Regions from separate parts of the Homo sapiens genome. Here region 2 is linked to region 1. The links are contacts of gene promoters, found by promoter capture Hi-C in human tissues and cell types (Jung and others, 2019). All regions are on one chromosome and are shown on one strand. The core of a region is centred on a gene start or on the middle of the fragment in contact, and the rest is flanking DNA. Distances in the headings are between cores, read along the strand shown. Region 1 holds the start of RNF157 (ring finger protein 157). Region 2 has its middle 6.5 kb from the start of WBP2.

Evidence for each region. The method cuts DNA at HindIII sites, captures the fragments that hold promoters and counts their contacts. A contact is called where the count stands out against the background at its distance.
Region 2: a fragment that was not itself captured here is called in contact with the fragment with the promoter of RNF157 in region 1 in 1 of the 25 tissues and cell types used here (heart right ventricle).

What each region holds. Positions count from the first base shown.
Region 1 is chr17:76,234,616-76,241,742 of GRCh38, reverse strand. It overlaps RNF157 (ring finger protein 157), which reads left to right and starts at 1,250. Exons shown (of 19, transcript NM_052916.3): 1 at 1,250-1,590. The coding sequence starts at 1,503. LOC105371896 (a long non-coding RNA gene) reads left to right here. Exons shown (of 6, transcript XR_007065913.1): 6 at 1-881. RefSeq lists silencers at 1,076-1,145, 1,166-1,305 and an enhancer at 1,610-2,282. The HindIII fragment of the contact is 11,074 bases long and covers 1-7,127 here.
Region 2 is chr17:75,858,317-75,865,443 of GRCh38, reverse strand. No RefSeq gene overlaps it. Among named protein-coding and RNA genes, the nearest start is that of WBP2, 6.5 kb to the right of the region's middle. RefSeq lists enhancers at 1-491, 395-554, 622-916. The HindIII fragment of the contact is 4,574 bases long and covers 2,257-6,830 here.

The DNA of each region.
Region 1 (7,127 bases), core at 1-2,500:
CAGCTACTCGGGAGGCTGAGGCAGGAGAATCCCTTGAACCCAGGAGGCGGAGGTTGCAGTGAGCTGAGATCACGCCACTGCACTCCAGCCTGGGCGACAGAGGGAGACTCCGTCTCAAAACACAGAAAAACAAAAACAAAATATAACCAGGAAAGACCTAGACTCCGTAAAATAGCTTTACAAACCTAATCAAGGGAACCAGACACCCCAAACTGTACTTCGAACACTGTTGAAAAGTTGTGAAAGTCATGTTCTAGCAGTTGAAATGTTTGCTGATCAGTCCACTCTCTCAGGAAAAAAAACACCAGACCCACAAAGAAAATAGAAGGTTTAAAACACAAATGTCTGTAATTAAGCAATGGAATGACGTCTTCCGCCGGCCCAAGCTTCCCACTGTTGTGTGTGTTTTTATCAACAGGAGCTCCCGGTTCTGCCTGGCCCGGTTCGCTTTCGCCTGCGTTGACTCTCTTGGCACTCAGGCCTTTCCAAAGTTTCCGGGGTCCCGTTTCCACGATACAGACAGAGGCTGGATGTCTTGATCTTATCCTCAGTCGATGTTCTCCTAACTTTAGGGCTACAAGGAGCCTTAAACAGCATGTATAGAGTTGGGAGCGCTTTGAATAGACGCACGTGAGAGGGAGGCGGCATCTTCCTAGCCGGTCACCAGCATTAACACGGGGCAGGAGACATGCGAATGCACCGTGGGACCCCTCTCCCTACCCCCCTGCATGAGATTTCCGAAGACCTCCGCCGGCCGACGCTGAGGGGCGGGGTTGGGAAGGCTTCCTCCAGGCGCGGGAGCAGCGGAGCGGGGACCGCCCGCTTTGGGACGCCCAGGACAATGGCGAGCGAGCTCCCGGCCAGTCCTCGCGGACCGCGGGAGGGGGCGGCTCCCTGCGCGGTAATCCGAGCCGGGATAAACAGGCGCGGAGGGGCGACGCGTCCCGGCCGGGTGCAGCGCTCGTCTCCTGGGGTCCCAGCTCCGGCCGGTCCCGCCCCGCCCCGCCGCGGGCACCCGGCCGCGCCCCCGTCCCCGTCGCGAGTCCCCGCCCACGCCCACGCCCCCGCCGCGAGGCCCTGGGCCGCGTCCACGCGCGCCGAGTCCAGCCGCGGCTCCCCGCGCGAGGCACGCGCCGCCGGCTCCTGCTGCAGTCCCGCGCTCATTGGCTGCTCCGGCGCGGGCGCTCCCGCCCCGCCTCGCCATTGGCTGGGGCCGCCGCGGTCCCCGCGCGGAGCGGCCGCTGACATCACGCGGCCTGAGGCGGCGGCGGCGCCCCCGGCCCAGACCCGCAGCCCCCTTGGCAGAGGCGCCGCCGCGGTGCCCGGCGGAGGATGGTGCGCGGCGCGCCGGGGGCTCCCCGCCGCCAGAGCCGCAGCGCCGCAGCGGAGCCGGCCGCGGCGGGCAGTCGGCCCCCGCACCGGGCGCGGGGCGGGCGGCCGCGGTGAAGCGCGGAGGGCGGCGCGGGCACCGGGGCCGGGCCGGGGCTGCAGCCGCAGCGGCCATGGGGGCCCTGACGAGCCGGCAGCACGCGGGCGTGGAGGAGGTGGACATCCCGTCTAATTCCGTGTACCGCTACCCGCCCAAGTCCGGTGAGGGCGGGCGGGCGCCGCAGCCGCGAGGAGGGAGAGGGGCAGGGGCAGGGGTCTGGGTCGGGACGGCCTGAGGGGGCCCCGCGGGTCTTCGGGGACTCAGTGGTTGCGGACGCTCCGAAACGGTCTTCGAGCGCGGGAGGTCTTCGAGAAGGCCGAGGTCTCCCCCGCCCCGGGCGAATTAGCCCAAGGGGCGTCCTGCCGGGTCTAGCAGGGTCACCGAGGGCACCGAGCCCCTCCACGGGAGGACGGGAGCGGCCTCCATTGTAATCGGCCCCGTGACGGGGACGCGTGCCCGCAGGGACCGAGGCTCCTGGGGAGCGGGGCTGCGGCGTCGTAGGCGAGGTCGGCGCCCCGCACGGACCCGGCCGGCCCGGCCCAAAGCCTACCTGCCTCGCGGGGTCCGAGGGCCGCGAGGGAGGCGACCTCGGCATCCAAACAGGCACTTGCGCCAGGTGCTATCCCTGCGCTGCCGTCTCCTGGCCTCTGGAAAGGTTAGAATTAGGTTTCTCCTGGAAAAGCTTCCATTGCCTGCTGAAGGATGGAAGCCAAACAGGCATTTGCAGTGCTGGTGCTTTTGCAGAGGCTGTCAGAAGCCGGGGGGTGGGGGGGGTGGTGGTGGTGGAAAGTAACAGAAATGTTTGGGAATCTGAGTATCAGAGTTACTCGGATTGCCCCTTTGCTAGCGTAGTGGCAAGCCTGGGTTTTGGAGTGGGACCAGCTCTGGGACAGGGCAGAGGTATTGGAAACGTATAGAAGTATGTTTGTTATTAGAATCATCCCTTCACTTAAATGTCTCTAGCCTCTGGATTGTGGTATCAGCATTGGAGGTGGAGGAGGATTTTGACAGCAAAGCAGAGAATCACAAGGTAGTTCAGTTATGTGAGCACCGGCCAGTATGAATTGCATGACCTAGCCGGTGTTTACTTTTAATTGCAAGTAGTTTTATTTTAATTAATTACTTTTAATTTTATTCTCAAGACTTCTGAGGATGAATGGCTGCGACATTCTGTCTGCTTAGGACCCGATGGAGATTTTGGTGATTTCGGAATGAGGTGTCAGAATTGGAGCAGAGCCTCGTCTCTTTTTGGTAGAATAGAGACATACTGAGATGAGCTGGTTTCTCAGCAGTGTGTCCAGTGTCTGCCAGGTGAAAGCAGGGGCCAGACGATGAACCTGCCCGCATCCCTGCAGAGTGTCTGCCAGAGCTGTGTTTCTCACTGCTTTTGTACCAAAGAATGAATCCTTGCAAAGATGAATATGGTGAAGAATTGTTTTAGAAAGGTCTAAGATAAAGCTGTGGGTCGTTAGTATTTTAATAAAGCTCTGACTGATTATGACTACATAAAATCAACGCTAACCAAGGCATAGATTTTGTTTTTTAATAGACAAAAATATTCTTAGGGCGGCATGAGGAAAACTTTTTAAAATAGACAAAAATATGCAGCAGTATTTGTGGGCTCTGTTTTTCTTAAACCACATGGCTTTTATTGATCAAAATATGGAGCATACTTTGCTGAGCTTGGAATTTTCAATAGTGTTTGCTGCCTCAGGAAAGTATTCACCGCTCTTTCATATGTGGGACTTAACATAGGTAAACCTCTGGAAGGCTGTTCCCCAAAGCATATTTGTACAAGTATGAATCTTGGGTGATGATAATAAAAAGACAATAGACCAAACCAAAACTTTTGTTAATTAGCACACTCAATAAATAATCCTCTCCTCTCTACCAGTTTTAAAAGTTTAACTGTAAAACTGTAATTCATGTTAAATCAGAAGTTATACATGAGAGAAGTCTTTATAGCAAGTGGACCACATTATTTCTGTTGAAGCTAAAACATAGAAAATAGAATCAGAACATCCTGTCTCTGTCAGCAAACCTTTGTGTATTTGAAACCTTATGTGAGCTTGCATATATGCTCTAGACGGAGGCATCGCCTTTCTTCTGATCTTTGAATTGACCTGGCTCTTTATGGGATTACAGTATTAGTCCTGAAAGGAACCGTTGACAGAGTTTGGCCATGACCACCATGCCTAGCTAATGTTTAATTTTTTTTTTTTTTTTTTGAGTCATCGTCTCTCTCTGTCACGCCCAGGCTGGAATGAAGTGGTGCAATATTGGCTTACTGCAACCTCTGCCTCTAGGGTTCAAGCAATTCTCCCGCCTCAGTCTCCCAAGTAGCTGGGATTACAGGTGTTTGCCACCACACCCGGCTAATTGTTTGTATTTTTAGTGGAGATGGGGTTTCACCATATTGGCCAGGCAAGTCTTGAACTCCTGACCTCTCAGGTGATCCGCCTGCCTCGGCCTCCCAAAGTGCTGGGATTACGGGTGTGAGCTACCACGCCCAGGCAAGTTTTTTGTAGAGACACTCTCTCACTATGTTGCCCAGGCTGGTCTTGAACTCGTGGTCTCAAGCAATCCTCCCGCCTTGGCCTCCCATTCATTTCACTGATAAGAAAATGGAGACCCAGAGAAATGAATTGGTATGGCCAGGGTCTCTCAGCCAGTTAGTGTTCTTCCTACTATACTGTCTGCCTCCACCTCTCAAGGAATTGGGTTTTGAACTTGTACTCAAAAAACAAGACTTAAAACAATCATTCCATGATTATGGAATGAAGGCTATTTCGTGTCATAATTGAAGTCCCTATAGAGGAATCAACCTGGGTTGATTTTGAGAAGTCTCCTTATCCTGAGTACTAACAGTGGAACAAAGCAAGTGGCAGAGTCAGCTTTCTCCAGATGACATACCTTGTAGTTTGAGTGTTAAGTTGAGACCACTATCTGGCTCGCTGGAAAGCGGCTAGACCTGCACTGCCGGTGGAACAGTTGTTTCGGAAAGAAGCACCATCATCTGTCCTTGTAATGACGGTCACAGTGTCCAGCTGAAATTGCTTTTTTCTTAGTATATTTAATGGAACTTCTTAGTTTTGTATGCACATTGAAACAAACATTTAAATCCTATCAAGAATGGCAGATTTCAAGTTGAGACTTGGGTTTGTAGCTTTTTTCTATCCTTAAATAGAGGTAGATAGAAATAAATAGCCTAAATTATTTAGAATTATTTATTTTTGAATAGGTAATATAGTCACACGGTTCAAACTTTAAAAGAATGAAAACGTGTACAGTGAAAGCCTTGTTCTCACCGCTGTTGTCCATCCACCTGGTTCTCCTTCCTCCCTCTAAACCTCCCATCCCATGTAACCACTTTTGGTTTCTTTGGAATTCTTTTAGAGTTTCTTGTGTAAATGCAAGCATAGCATGCTATTAGACTGTTCTACACCTTGCTCTGTTTGCTTTCAGAGATATTGGAGATCTTTTTATATTGTCTCATATTTGATAAGTTTCTTTGTGCTTTTTAACAACTATATAGTATTCCTCTGCATGCATATGCCATCTTTTTTTTTACATAGTCTCCTGTTGATAAACATCTGTGAGTTGTTTTTTCAGTATCTTACTATTGCAAACAGTGCAACAATGAATAATGTTATGCATTAGGTGATTTTTAGATTTATTAATAATTGTGTGAATATTAATCATTTAAGTAATAGAAAGTATGGTGGGAGTTTCTGTATAGCATTTCTACATTAGCATAGAAAGCAATTTAGAGCACGGTTCTACTGTATTTGGATGTACTTTTGTAATTTTTGAGTTAGAAGTCATACATGCTTCTCTAAGATCTTTGCATCTTTAAAAGCCCAAGATCATTTGTTTAGCAAAGAAAGGTATGGCTTTGCGGAGATGGTTGCTTTTATGAAGCTCATCTTTTGACAGAAGTATCCACGTTGATAAAAGTCCACATTGATAAAAGCCTGTTTTCTCTATCCAGGAAGAAATAGGCATAATATAAAGACAGTTTAATTTATATAAAGCAGTACCTCATAAATCTAGTTTGTTTCCCTCCACATACTTGGGCAAGTTGGAAAATAGGAATAATTTGTTTTGCTGAAGTCTTTAAGAAGTAAACCTACTACAGAAATTCAGAATGGTAATCAGAGTCCTGACCAGCTAGCTTGGTTAAACCCGGGTTTTTGCTTTTAAGGCCTTCAACTGACTAGAGGCCCACCCACATAATCAAGGATAATCTCCTTTACTTAAAGTCAACTGATTGTAGATTTTAAAAAATTAAATAATTTATTTTTAGAGACAGGGTCTCACTCTGGCATCCAGGCTGGAGTGCAGTGGTGTTATCAAAGCTCACTGTAACCTCAAAGTCCTGGGCTCAAGCGATCTTCCTGCCTCAGCCTCCTCAGTAGCTGGGATTACAGGCACATACCACCATGCCTGGCTAATGTTTAAAGTTTTTGTAGAGACAGTATCTCACTGTGTTGCCCAGGCTGGTCTTGAACTCCTGGTCTCAAGCAGTCCTCCCACCTCGGGGTCCCAAAGCAGTGGGATTACAGAAGTGATCTACCGTACCCAGCCATAGATGTATCACATCTGTCTACATCATCATTCTCCAAATTTTTGTTATTTTAGAGTACACATATTCTTGTCAAATGGGTCTTTCCTATTGCAAGAACAGTTTTTAAAGGCATGGATAATAAGTCTTTGTCGAATAACTATAAAAGTTTTAATGTAAGTTTCTCCTAGCTTTAGGAGTATCAATTTAATATTAGATTTGAAACCATACACTTAAAAATATGCAATTTACGGCTGGGCGCAGTGGCTCACGCCTGTAATCCCAGCACTTTGGGAGGCCGAGGCGGGCAGATCACGAGGTCAGGAGATCAAGACCATCCTGGCTAACATGGTGAAACCCCGTCTCTACTAAAAATACAAAAAAATTAGCCAGGCATGGTGACAGAAGCCTGTAGTCCCAACTACTCGGGAGGCTGAGGCAGGAGAATGATGTGAACCCAGGAGGCGGAGCTTGCAGTGAGCCGAGATCGTGCCACTGCACTCCAGCCTGGGCGACAGAGCGAGACTCCGTCTCAAAAAAAAAAAAAAAAGTAACCTACTACAAAATAAGGAATTATTTGGTTGGCACAGTTTGACACTTTAAAATATCCAAAACAATTTTGAAAAAGGAACAAAGTTGGAGGACTATCGCTACCCTATTTTAAAAGTTACTATGCATATAATTACTATAATGCCACAGTAATCAAGATAGTGTGGTATTGGCACAATGAAGAGCATATAGATCAGTGGAACAGAGTTATGAACCAGAAATCCTTACATTTATTTTCGGTTGATTTTGACAAAAGTACCGAGACAATTGAATGGGGAAAGGATAGTGGTTTCAACAAATGATGCTGGGATGAGCAAAAAAGAAAATGAACTCAGACCTATTCTTTACATCACCAAAATTAACTCAAAATGGATTATAGAGTTAAAAGAGAGAACTCAGAGAATGGGAGAAATTTTTATAAATCATAGGTATGACAAGAATTTGTATCTAGAATATATAAGGAACTCATATGCTCAATAATAAAAAGACAACCCAATTAAAAATGGTCACAGCACTTGAATAGACATTTCTCCAAAAAAGATATACAGTGGACAATAAGCACTTGAAGAGATGATCATTATTAAC
Region 2 (7,127 bases), core at 3,294-5,793, 380 kb after region 1:
CGAGGTGGCAGGCCAGGTCCTGCAGAGCAGAGCCTGGTAAGGATTCTGGACTTTTCCTAGGAACAATGGGAAGCCAGGGCATGGTCTCACATGGGGAAACAGTACAATCAGATTTGAAGTTTCGGCTGGGCGCCATGGCTCACGCCTGTAATCCTAGCACTTAGGGAGGCTGAGGCGGGAGGATCACGAGCTCAGGAGTTCAGGGCCAGCCTGGGCAACATGGTGAAACCCCATCTCTACCAAAAATACAAAAAAAAAAAAAAAATTAGCCAGGCATGGTGACGCACACCTGGGATCTCAGCTACTCTGAAGGCTGAGGTATGAGGATTGCTTGAGCCCAGGAGGCATAGGTTGCGGTGAGCTGAGATCACACTACTGCACTCCAGCCTGGGTGACAGAGTGAGACCTCATTTCAAAAAAAAAAAAAGGGTTTGAAGTTTCAAAATCATTCTATTATTTAGGTGAGAGATAAGCTTAAGGAGGGGAAAAAGAGGATGAAAATGACTAAAACTGCCACCTTGCATCTTGCCAGGGAAGTGGAGAAGAGCCCCCTAACTCTGGGAAGGGGGACCAGAAATATAATAGCAGGGAGGGGCCAGGCCCTTAAGCACCTCCCCTGGTCCCTCCTCTCCTCCAGCTCTCTGGTGTAGAGGGGGGTCCCTCCAGCCAAGGCTCCTCAGTACTGGGATGCGGACATCTTCAGAGGTCACACCGCCCCTTTCTGGCTTTCTGTGGTTTTGGAGGCTCAGAAGCGGAAATGCACTCGAGGTGTGTATAAACACTCTAACAGCAGGAATTGCTCAGAACAGGCCTTGCAGCTGTGTCTGGGGAAACTGAACTTGACAGAGCCAGGAGGTCCCAGCGGGAACTTCAGGGTGGGGCCCATCTCTATAGCAACCAGAAACAGCCCCAGACACGCTCTGGCCCTGCTTCTGATGAGGGAGCGGGCAATTTGTGTTCTTGAAATACCCACGGCCAAAAAGGACTCATCCAAAATAGCCCACTTCCACGTCACCAAACATCACCAACGCCTCACAGGGCATCTGCCACTCCGCAGCAGAGCAACCAACGGTGAGTGGCAGAAAGTTACCAATGACTTACCAGGAGTTTTATTTTTCTCACTGGCGTATTAGAAAGAGGACAACTGGCTGAAAGAAAAAGACTTGGTGTATCAAGCACAAATTTGTTCCCCCAAACTCAGGTAAAAGAAATGTCCATTTGAGTAGTTTCCCTAAATCAAGTAAAATGTGATTATAGGCCAGGCACGGTGGCTCACGCCTGTAATCCCAGCACTTTGGGAGGCTGAGGCGGGCGGATCACGAGGTCAGGAGATCGAGACCATCCTGGCTAACACGGTGAAACCCTGTCTCTACTAAAAATACAAAAAATTAGCCGGGCGTGGTGGCGGGCACCTATAGTCCCATCTACTCGGGAGGCTGAGGCAGGAGAATGGCGTGAACCCGGGAGGCGGAGTTTGCAGTGAGTCGAGATGGCGCCACTGCACTCCAGCCTGGGCCATATAGAGCGAGACTCCGTCTCAAAAAAAAAAAATGTGATTATAAGCTGCCCTTTGCCAAGAAAGTAAGAAATTCAACTTCAGGCATATGGGGAGGGGCATCTTCCCCCTCAGTAGAATCACTATTATTATTATTATTATTATTATTATTATTATTATTATTATTATTGAGACGGAGTCATCCAGGCTGGAGCGTACAATCTTGGCTTACTGCAACCTCTGCCTCCCAGGTTCAAGTGATTCTCCTGCCTCAGCCTCCTGAGTAGCTGGGATTACAGGCGCCCACCACCATGCCTGGCTAATTTTTGTATTTTTAGTAGGGACAGGGTTTCACCATGTTGGCCAGGCTGGTCTCAAACTCCTGACCTAAGGTGATTGGCCCACTTCGGCCTCCCAAAGTGCTGGGATTACAGGCGAGAGCCACTGCACCTGGCATTATATGGTGATTCCATGGTGCCCAGGGGATGGGAGAGCTTTCTTCCCTGCACCAACTCTGTTGCTCAGGCTGGAGTGCAGTGGCACCATCTCAGCTCACTACAACCTCTGCCTCCTGGGTTCAAGTGATTCTCCTGCCTCAGCCTCCTGTGTAGCTGGGATTACAGGCGTGCGCTACCACGCCCGGCTAATTTTTGTATTTTTAGTAGAGACAGGGTTTCACCATGTTGGCCAGGCTGGTCTCGAACTCCTTGCTTCAAGTGATCCACCCACTTTGGCCTCCCAAGTGCTGGAATTACAGGCATGAGCCACCCCACCGGGGCCTCAGATGGGAGAGCCTCCACTCTGTTCTCCACTGGGTCTGCTGCTGCTCAGATGCCGACCGTCTGAGCCCAAGTGCTTCTATTTTTTATTTTTATTTTTATTTTTGAGACAGAGTCTCACTCTGTCACCCAGGCTGGAGTGCAATGGCATGATCTCGGCTCACCGCAACCTCTGCCTCCAGGGTTCAAGCAGTTCTCTCGCCTCAGCCTCCCAAGTAGCTGTGATTACAGGCGTGCGCCACCATGCCTGGCTAATTGTATATTTTTTAGTAAAGATAAGGTTTCTCCATGTTGGTCAGGCTGGTCTTGAACTCCCAACCTCAGGTAATCCACCCGCCTCGGCCTCCCAAAGTGCTGGGATTACAGGTGTGAGCCACTGCGCCCGGCTCCAAGGGCTTCTAGCTGCAGCTGAGGCCCCACTGCCCTGGGCCAAGCACATTTTGGGGATGATGCCAAACTCTTGACTCTTAGCTCCAAACCCACTATATTAATGCGCTGGGCTGTCGTAACAAGATACCACAAACCAGGCGGCTTCAACAATCAAAATGGGCCAGGTGCGGTGGCTCACGCCTGTAATCCCAGCACTGTGGGAGGCCGAGGCGGGCACATCACGAGGTCAGGAGATCGAGACCATCCTGGCTAACACGGTGGAACCCCCCCCGTCTCTACTAAAAATACAAAAAAATTAGCTGGGCGTGGTGGCGGGCGCCTGTAGTCCCAGCTACTCGGGAGGCTGAGGCAGGAGAATGGCGTGAATCCCGGAGGCGGAGCTTGCAGTGAGCTGAGATCGCGCCAGTGCACTCCAGCCTGGGCGACAGAGTGAGACTCCGTCTCAAAACAAACAAACAAACAAAAACAATCAAAATGTATTGTCTCAGTGCTGGAGACCGAAGTCTGGAATCAAGGTACGGGCAGGGTTGACTCCTTCTGAGGCTGTGAGAGCGAATCTGTCCCCTGACGCTCTCCTTGCTTCTGGTGGTTTGTTGACAATATGTAGCAATCCGTGTAGCAATCTTGGTAGCTCTCTGCCTCCCTCTTTGCACCGCCTGCCTTCTCCCTGCGTGTGTGTCTGTGTCCAAGTTTCTCCTTCTTACAAGGGCACCAGTCACGCTGGATTTAGGGCCCACCCTAATGATCTCATCTTAACTAATGATGTCTTCAACAACCCTATTTCCAAATAAGGTCACTTTCAGAGGTACTGCAGGTCAGGACTTCAACATGTGAATTTGAAGTCGGGGGGACCGAACTCAACTCATAACACCCACCCACCCAACTCAGCTTCATGGTCTGGCTGGGACTCAGAGCCACATGTCTTTGTTTTCTTAATTTTATTTTTTATTACTACTTTTTGAGATGAAGTCTTGCCCTGTCGCCCAGGCTGGAGTGCAGTGGTGCGATCTTGGCTCACTGCAAGCTCTGCCTCCTGGATTCCAGAGATTTTCTTGCCTCAGCCTCCTGAGTAGCTGGGACTACAGGCACACGCCACCACGCCCAGATAATTTTCGTATTTTTAGTAGAGATGGGGTTTCACCGTGTTGCCCAGGCTGGCCTCGAACGCCTGCCCTCAGGTGATCCACCTGCCTGGGCCTCCCAAACTGCTATGATTACAGGCATGAGCCAATGCACCCAGAGCCACGTTTCTCCATTGCCTGCTGCTCCCTGCCAGGCTCTGCCAAGAGGGGGCGCTAGAGAGGCCTGAAGGGCTGGAGAAGGCCCCAGCCTCCCATCTGCTCACTATTTTTGCCTGTATTGTACCCAGGAAAGCTTCTTCATTGGGGCAGCTGCAGTTCTTTAGCAGCAGCTGAATCCAGTTTCTACTTTTTCCAACCCTTGCAGAACCAGCTACCCTGAGCTCCCTTCAGAGGCACGGGCACCAGCACCAGCCGGCCCAGGCCCGCTCTTCAGAGGGCTGGGTTTTAGTACCCTGGGGCTCCTCTTTCAAGCTTCTGTATTATTGTTGATTTTGGTGTTTTGTTTTGTTTTTTGAGATGGGGGTCTCACTCTGTCACCCAGGCTGGAGTGCAATGGTGCGAACTCAGCTCACTGCAGCCTCTGCCTCCTGAGCGAAGCAATCCTCCCACCTCAGCCTCCTGAGTAGCTGGGACTACAGGTGCGCTCCACCACCCCCGGCTAACTTTTTGTATTTTTAGTAGAGATGGGGGCTTCACCATGTTGGCCAGGCTGGTCTCAAACTCCTGACCTCAAGTGTCCGCCGTGAGCCACCACGCCGGCAGCACTTTTTTTTTTTTTGAGTTTCACTCTTTTTGCCCAGGCTGGAGTGCAATGGCGCCATCTCGGCTCACTGCAACCTCCGTCTTCCAGATTCCAGCTATTCTCCTGCCTCAGCCTCCCGAGTAGCTGGGATTACAGGCTTGCGCCACCATGCCCGGCTAATTTTGTAGTTTTAGTAGAGACGGGGTTTCACCATGTTGGCCAGGCTGGTCTTGAACTCCTGACTCAGGTGATCTGCCCGCCTCGGCTTCCCAAAGTGCTGGGATTAGAGGTGCGAGCCACCGAGCCCGGCCCTTTCAGCAATTTTTTTTTTTTTTTTTGAGACGGAGTCTCACTCTGTCGCCGAGACTGGAGTGCAGTGGCTCGATCTCTGCTCACTGCAAGCTCCGCCTCCTGGGTTCACGCCATTCTCCTGCCTCAGCCTCCTGAGTAGCTGGGACTACAGGTGCTCACCACCACACCCGGCTAATTTTTTTGTATTTTTTTTTTTTAGTAGAGACAGGGTTTCACCGTGTTAGCCAGGATGGTCTTGATCTCCTGACCTCGTGATCTGCCTGCCTCGGCCTCCCAAAGTGCTGGATTTACAGGCGTCAGCAACTGCGCCCGGCTGCTTGCAGCAATTTTTTAAGATGACAAAATAAAACAGAAAATTTCAGAATATATCCCACTACAAAATACAAATTAAGCAGCATGTGGTGGTGGCAGGGCCTGTACTCTCAGCTACTTGGGAGGCTGAGGCAGGACCACTGCTTGATGCCAGGAGTTCAAGACCATCCTGGGCAACATAATGGAACCCCATCTCTACCAAAAAAATTTTTTAAACTAGCCAGGCATGGTGATGTGCACTTGTAGTCCCAGCTACTTAGGAGGCTGACGTAAAAAGATTGCTTGAGCCCGGGAGGTTGAAGGTGCAGTAAGCCATGACTGCACCACTCCAGCCTGAGTGACAATGTAAGACAGGGTCTCGCTCTGTCACCCAGGCTGGTCTCAAACTCCTGGGCTCAAGCCCTATATATTTTTACTGTGGGTCAAGGTAAGGAAAAACAGCCACCGTTTGGTAAATGCTGCCAACCTTTTTTTTTTTTTTTTTTTTTAAATTTTTAGAGGGAGGGTCTCACTATGTTGCCCAGGATGGTCTTAAACTCCTGGGCTGAAGCAATCCTCCTGCCTCAGTCTTCCAAAATGCTGGGATTACAGGCATGAGCCACCTCTACGGGCCTGCCAACCTCTTTTATGTCATGGCACACACAGAAAATGATTTGTTCAGTGAAAATGGTATTTATTTGGCTCACTGGGGCAAACAGATTCATCTTATTGGGAGTCAAGAGGCGACCAGGCGGGGGCGGTGGCTCATACCTGTAATCCTAACACTTTCGGGAGTGTTAGGTGGGCGGATGACTTGAGGTCAGGAATTTGAGACCAGCTTGGCCAACATGGTGAAACCCCATCTCTACTAAAAATACAAAGATTAGCTGGGCGTGGTGGCACGATTCTGTAGTCCCAGCTACTCTGGAGGCTGAGGCATGAGAATTGCTTGAACCCGGGAGGCGGAGGCTGCAGTGAGCAGAGATCATGTCAATGCACTCCACCCCAGGAGACGGGCAAGACCCTGTATCAAAAATAAATACATAAATAATAAATAAAATTATAAACAGAAAAAACAGGTGACCAGTTCAGGGGCTCAGCTGCCCCAGACCTTGCCTGCTGGTATCTGAGGCCAACCTGCACTCCTCCTTAGCGCACCGCTAAGATGTGCTCCAGTGTGGAGAATATGAGCATCATACTGCAGTGAAAAAGAGATCTGGAGACAGGCAGACAGGAGTATGAGGCCAGAGGAGAGGTCTGAGTACTGAGACCTGGGCCCAGGGGAGCCTCCTGCTGCTCACCTGGTTCAGCAATAAACCATTGTTGAAGTCTTCGGTTTGAGTTTTGAGTTCTGGTACGTTCCAGCCCCAAAGTCATGGGAGCCGCCCAGGAAGTGTGTTCACATGGTCATATGTTTTTGTAAAACTTAGAAATTCTGGACATTGTAGCCGGAGCTGGTCAAGCTTGTTATCTCTGCACTGCAACTTCCTCTTCTTGTCATTTCCCCTCCTGTCAGGAGGCCTCACTGTAGCCACAGTATTGTGAATGAATAATTGTGGGGTTGTTTTTTTTTTTTGAGTTAGAGCTTTCCTCTCGTTGCCCAGGCTGGAGTGCAGTGGCTTGATCTCAGCTCACTGCAACCTCCGTCTCCAGGGTTCAAGCGATTCTCCTGCCTCAGCCTCCCGAGTAGCTGGGATTACAGGTGACCGCTACCACACCCAGCTAATTTTTTGTATTTTTAGTAAAGACGGGGTTTCACCACGTTGGCCAGGCTGGTCTCAAATTCCTGACCTCAGGTGATCCACCTTCCTCAGCCTCCCAAAGTGCTGGGATTACAGGCATGAGCCACTGCGCCCGGCCTGTGTATTTTATTTCTTAAAAAGAGCCTCCAGATCACTTGAGTCCAGGAGTTCCAAGGAAGCAGTGAGCTATGATCGCACCTGGGTGACAGAATGAGACCCTGTCTCAAAAAACAAAAACATAAACAACCAAGACAGCCTCCAAAATTGTATAAGCTTCAAGGCCTGGCAAAACCT